Regions from separate parts of the Homo sapiens genome. Here region 2 is linked to region 1. Evidence: promoter capture Hi-C in 16 types of primary human blood cells and fetal thymus (Javierre and others, 2016). All regions are on one chromosome and are shown on one strand. The core of a region is centred on a gene start or on the middle of the fragment in contact, and the rest is flanking DNA. Distances in the headings are between cores, read along the strand shown.

What was found. The method cuts DNA at HindIII sites, captures the fragments that hold promoters and counts their contacts. A CHiCAGO score of 5 or more calls a contact.
Region 2: a fragment that was not itself captured here is called in contact with the fragment with the promoter of LINC01412 in region 1 in 1 of 17 cell types (megakaryocytes); the score reaches 5.1 in megakaryocytes.

The regions. Positions count from the first base shown.
Region 1 is chr2:144,520,322-144,523,538 of GRCh38, reverse strand. It overlaps LINC01412 (long intergenic non-protein coding RNA 1412), which reads right to left and starts at 1,671. Exons shown (of 3, transcript NR_110570.1): 1 at 1,613-1,671. ZEB2-AS1 (ZEB2 antisense RNA 1) reads right to left here. Exons shown (of 4, transcript NR_040248.2): 4 at 2,640-2,785. The HindIII fragment of the contact is 4,746 bases long and covers 1-1,830 here.
Region 2 is chr2:146,520,397-146,523,613 of GRCh38, reverse strand. No RefSeq gene overlaps it. Among named protein-coding and RNA genes, the nearest start is that of LINC01911, 320 kb to the left of the region's middle. The HindIII fragment of the contact is 3,849 bases long and covers 1-3,217 here.

The sequences.
Region 1 (3,217 bases), core at 422-2,921:
AGCTGTGGCCAAATTCGAATTCCTTCTACAGCCTGTGTGTTCAAGGGCAGAAACATTGTATCTCTTCGGGCATCTGGGCCGCCAAGCTGAGCGGGGGGAGGGGGGAGCGGCTGTGAAAGTTGAGGAAATTGACAGACTGAGAGGTGAATGGGGGGACAGGCACCAGGTCCTGGCTGGAGGGAATTGGAAAACAAAAGTGCATCCTTCTCACCCTGCCTGGGTGGAGGGAATCCTGAGGGAGGTAGTTTGTTTTGCCCATGGAAACCCCAAAGAATTATTTTTCCCCCTTCAATGTTGATTGCAATATTATTTCACATTTCCGTGTATCTGTTGTTTTAATCTCTTTCGTCTGCGCTAATCTCGAAGTGGATTATTAATGGGGAAGACAGAGAAGGAGAGATTCATTTGCAGGACTTATTTTGCTGTGTGAGGAGCCGAAAGCCAGCAGCCCCCAGTCCTCTCTCGACTTTTCTCTGCGTCCTGTGCTCCTGCATCCTCCTGATCCCACGATCCCCATTGTCCCCGAACTGGCCCTCGGACTGAGGGAGTGTTCGGAACAAATTTATATTCCGGCTTCCTCCCGACCCCATCACCTCTGCCACGTTGGGAACTCTCTCGGCCAAATGCCTGGGGAGGGGCGTGCCAGTCAGGAACCAGGGGCAAGGCAACCTAGCCGCAGCGCTCACCCCTCGCGGAGACCCTTCCCGTGCCACCATCCAAATATCTACCTTCATGGGAACCTGGAAGACTGCTTTTTCACCCCAAATCAAATACTGGCTAGTCGGAACTCCCAGTGATAAATGTTGGGGACTGCCTCCTGCCACTTGAGCAATTCCTGAGTCCAGGGTAATCAGATGATTAGGTGTTTTTAATGGAAATACTTAGGGTTTTTTTTTTTTTTTTTAAGTCAGATCCTAAGTAACCTGACATTTAATATACATAATAAAGACAAGTGTTTTGTTAGCTATTCGATTGGATCCTTTGACCTGAGGTTATGCTTGTGTGTGTGTCTGGTCTGTAAGCCTCCAATGGCTACCTGGGTGCCTGAAGAGGAGTCTTGCCTGTAATAACTCTATGCAAAGGGCTCCTTCTTCCTTAGGAGTGGTGGAAGGGTGGCTGTAAAGCAAACGTCTAGAGAAAGCTGGATTCCAATCTTTTAAATTAAAAAAGAGGAAAAAAAGGAAGAGGAAGAAAAATGGACATGAACAGTGGTGCTAAATCTCAGAAGAGGAACTTGATAAGTCACACATATATTTAGTATAGATATATAATAATGAAAGAAATGTAAAATATAAAATTAAGAATGTGCCTGACCCATGTTGAAAATCTTTGATTTTATTTATTAATAATTTTTAAGCTGAAGATCCTGAATGCCTTTCTTCTATAGACACTTTATCTGTGATGGGGTGGGGGGAGAGAGTTAATTTATCCAGCAGCTATTTTCATTATAATAAATACTTAAATTAGGAAAGAGGTGAGTAACCAACTGTGAAAATCTACTTTCTTGCATCCTAGAACAAGATCTAGCTGTGGTCGTGCTAGGTAGCTATTAACCACCCCCACCCCACTCCCCCGCCCCGCAAAAAAAAATACAAAATACAAAGACGTATACCTCTGGGAGTGTGGATGTGGCAACCCATGTGGTGGCTTGTCCCTCCTTTGAGTGCAATTGCCAGTGACTCTTGCATTCAAAGTCTTGCTTTAGGCACACATTCAAAGCACAGTTCAAAGCAGTTTATCTTAATATAGTGTTGGATCAGGGTATTATTTGTTTCAGATTTCATCAGACTGGAAACAGGAGGGTGTAACATATTTAACAATATTAAAGCTTAAAAATTGGTGTGAGGCAGCTCTCTGGTCCTCTTAACACCTCCACCTTTACCTTTCCGAAGAATCCTAAATGCTGTGAGGCTAGAAGTTTATTTGTGCTCTGAGGTTCTCAAGCACTTTCACTCTTTAGGAAAAAAAAAAAAGTCTCACAGTTATTTAAGAAATTGAGCCTGAACCATCCGAGGATAGGAGATTTCTTCCTTTTCCGATAAATGCCTGTGCTCAGCATCCTCAAATTTGGCTGTCTTTATTTACTTCTATATTAGTTCCAATTATGTGCAGTGTAAACCAGCTTTTTGATTAACAAAACAGCAGAGCATTGGTTAAGAACACTTAAACTTCAAAAAAATTCCCCTGGGAAGTGGGCTCTGAATTGGTTAATAATGTGCAGTACTTGCTAAATTGCTGACTTCCAGATGTGGAAAATATCTTTCTTGTTTAGGACCTATGTAACCTGATTGGATTACGACAGAAGCGTCACGTTGGAAGCTTTTGAGTGATTATTTAATTAACCATACAGTAGAAAGCTGTATTCTCCAGGAAATCCCTTCCATATTTGCATAACCAATCCCTTCAGAGCAAAGGTGGAGTCTTTTCTTTTTAATCTTACTTTAATTGTAATATCAAAAAATATATACTCCAAAACTTAGACCCCATGCCGTTTAATATCATGCTCTCCCTTCCCTGCTAAGTTTCTCTATGGCCTTTCTCGTTTCTCCTCCTGCCTCCCTACACACTCTCCCTTACTTTGTAGTGAGGTCTCCCCGAGGTGTAGAGAGATTCAGAGATCGGCCAACCGAGTGTTCTATTTTAATTTACTTAGAGACCCTTTATTAAAATGCCAAACTACTTTTTAATATTGGGATCCAGTCCAGAAATTCATCATGCACACACCCTAATACACATGCCCTAAGATGCAGCTCCCATGCAGCATTTTTTTTTCTGGCTCTGGTACCTAAAAAGAAAAAAATAACAATAAGAGAAAGGGCAGAGAACTTTGTTCCAGAAGCTGTACTGAGATACCTACACAATTTGATGTGCATCTCAAATCTGGTCATTAGAGATATCTGTATAAGAAGAGACTATCTGGATTGAGGACCCGGGATCTTTCCCTTTAACTTTCGCCCCTTGGAGTTCTCCAGTTCTGTGAATGGTGTGCACCGTTTTCCGCCCTGTACTCTGTAGGATTTAGTGATGAGGATAATGATGCCAAAGGCTTGACGGGCGGGGAGGGGGGGGTGGAGGGGGGGAGAAGGGAGGGAGGGGGGAGGGAGGCGAAGGCGAAAGGGAGGGAGAGGAGGAAGGGAGGGAGGTGGAATTTCATTTCTTCCACTAAAGCGTTTGCGGAGACTTCAAGGTATAATCTATCCCAGATCCTTTCCCAGAG
Region 2 (3,217 bases), core at 466-2,965, 2.0 Mb before region 1:
TGTTACTGTAACTGTAGTCATGAGCCTACCTATGACAGTGTCATCCGTGAATCTTGCTTGGCTCTGATCTCAAACTCAACCTATAAAACCCTTGAAAGTTTACTTAATTATTGCCAAGTAAAATTTTAATTTGCTTCAAAATTGCATGGTGAATACAGTTATTATAATTAAGTTTATATTAGAAATTGGCACTAGAGGGAGCTAAGTAATTGTATCATTTATGTGTTTAGGGGAAAATTGAACATTCATTTAAAAACTTGTATTTTTTTTCAGAACCTGCTGATTTTACAAATATGGCAGCTATGCCTCAGCAAATTATAAGCAATAATGAATTAGTTAATTTTCTTCTGTGAAAACTGCTATGGTAAGATTATTAAATTACTGTATTTCTACTTAGTGAAAGTAGCTACCAGTCAGTAAATTAGGATTTCTAAGACTCTTTGGGGAAAGAGATTATTACTATTATCCATGTTTATCATTATTTTGGCCCTAACAGAATTAAAATGTTTATAGTACCTGTTAAAATGTGATATTTTGTTCTCAAATGTATAGTTTGATAAGAAAATGGCCTTATTGAATAGGATCTCAGTGAAGATTAGAAAACAATTTTACTCTTATGGAATATTCTAGGAACTTAGCTGGTTTGATTACTTTGAAGGACTGATTCAATTGAACAACAGTATTATTTTCCAGCAAGCAGAACCTACTATAAGTTGAATGAAATTATGTTATTTTCCACTTTTACAGTTGTATCTAAAATGAACAAAAGCTAAACGCTGCAGGACATTTTTATTTACAAAAACTAAAGAATTGAAGAGCAAATATACAATCTCATGCATTGTGCATGTTTAGTCCCAGGAAAGGTTCACAGTTAAGAAGAGCCTGTGTGAAGTCAATGCTGGTGCCTGTGACGGGTGTGGGAATGGGAAATTTTACTCTCTCCATTGCCTCATTACTTAGGCAGTCACAGCCAAAAAGGGACACGTTTTACATCAGTTTATAGGTGAGCATGTCCCTATTACAAATAATGCATGCAGGAACTTTTTTTTTTCACAGACACTTTGAAAGAAAAAGATATGATTTAGATGTTAAAATGAAGTTTAATTCACATTCCATCTACTTTGAAAAGAAAATGATGTTGAAAATATTTAAATAATACCCATTGTCTTCTGTGGTAAAATCCTCTTAGCTGATTTTCAGTTATTTGAATTTATGTTCCGATGTCCAAAAGAAAGTTTCTTGCTTTTCTTCTAATAGTTTGATTGAGGAACCCATCTGCTGTTAACTACATGTGACTAGGTTTAGATTTAATATAGAAGTGAATTTCAGGGAAAATAAAGTACAAAGTAGAAAAAAAATTACAGTCAGGCAATACATTGTTTGTTAAACCACAAAACTGATTTCTACCTGTTTGCCTCATTTATTTTTCCATAAAAATGAAACATTCCTTAACTTTTATACTAATATTTTATTTTTACTGTTTGAATAATTAGTATATTTTCTCTCAAAGGAGTGCTGTAATCCAGGTTAGCCTTGTAAAAGATGTTAGCAAGTGATATTTCACAGACAGAACTTGGGGAAAAAGAGAGGGTTTTTAATACTGAATATAACTAGAACATCTTTCAGGTCTCCAAATTAGTGTTTAACAAACTTTAATGTACATGCTAATCACCTGAGGGTTTGTTAAAATACAGATTCTAACTCAGAAGATGCAGGATTATTTTGCATTTCTAACAAGCTCCCAGGTAATGCTGTTGTTGCCGTCTGTGGACCACACTTTGAATAGCGAGACTCATCATTTTCTTTAATACTGCTAAGGTTCTCTGGTTTGAAATTAGAATTGAAAGCAAAAGAAAAGAGTTTAGAGTAAAGTAATGGTGTCAATCTTGGAAACCTGAGATGCCACTATATTTGTTCTTGCCCATCCTGAGCTGTGTTAGATGCTCAACACTGACCCTGTACAGAAACAGTGTAATTCATTCTGCAGGCAGGGCCAGAATTTAATGTCCTGAGTCTCAGTTTCATTATCTGTAAAATGAAAATATAATACCTACCTCCTAGGTTTGTAGTTTGCTTAATTTTTATCATTTCTCATTTGCTTGGCATTGATCACTGAGCTCCTAGAATTTTGATATACCTTATTTAGCATCAGGATGTTTGCATATGGCATACTCTAGTGAGTACCAGCTGTCATTACTACAATTATTACCAGCAAGTTGGGATATTGGGCCATCAGTAGTTGAGTGTAGATGGAATATATTGTTTGTGAGATGATAAGATGAACGAGAAAGCTAGAAAGAAAGACAGGGAATACTTCTAGCAACACTATTCACAACAGTGGAGACACGGAATCAACCTAAATGCCAATTAATGATAGAATGGATAAAGAAAATGTGGTACATATATACCATGGAATACTATGCAGCCATTGAAAAGAAGGTTAGCCTCAGTATGTGTTGTTCCCATCTATGTGTCCATGTGATCTCATTATTTAGCTCCCACTTATAAGTGAGAACATGCGGTATTTGGTTTTCTGTTCCTGTATTAGTTTGTTAAGGATAATGGCCTCTAGTTCCATCCATGTCCCCGCAAAGGAAACAATCTTCTTCTTTTTAAGAAGGTTGGGAGGAGTGAGAGGATCAGGAAAAATAACTAATGAGTAATAGGCTTAATACTAGGATGGTGAAATAATCTGTACGACAAATCCCCATGACACATGGTCACCTCTAACCAACCTGTACATTCACCCCTGAACTAAAAATGTTTAAAAAAAGGGGAGGCCAGGTGCTGCGGCTCATGCCTGTAATCTCCAAACTTTGAGAGGCTAAGGTTATGGATCTCTTGTGCCCAGGAGCAGGAGTTTGAGATAAGCCTGGACATCAAGGCAAAATCCCGTATCTACCAAAAATACAAAAATTAGTCCGGTGTGGTGGTGTGTGCCTGTAGTCCCAGCTACTCAGGAGGCTAAGGTGGGGGGATCCCTTAAGCCTGGGAGGCGGAGGTTGCAGTGAGCTGAGATTGCACCACTGTACTCCAGCCTGGGTGACAGAGAGAGACCATGTCCAAAAACAAAAAAAAAACACCAACAAGATGAGATAACAAAAGGGTTTCAATCTATGCTAGGAATTTGAAATTTATTATTTAAAAAATGATGAACTATTAGAAGACTGCAAATTGAGGAGTAGTAGGAACAAAATACTATGTCTTTTTTGAATTG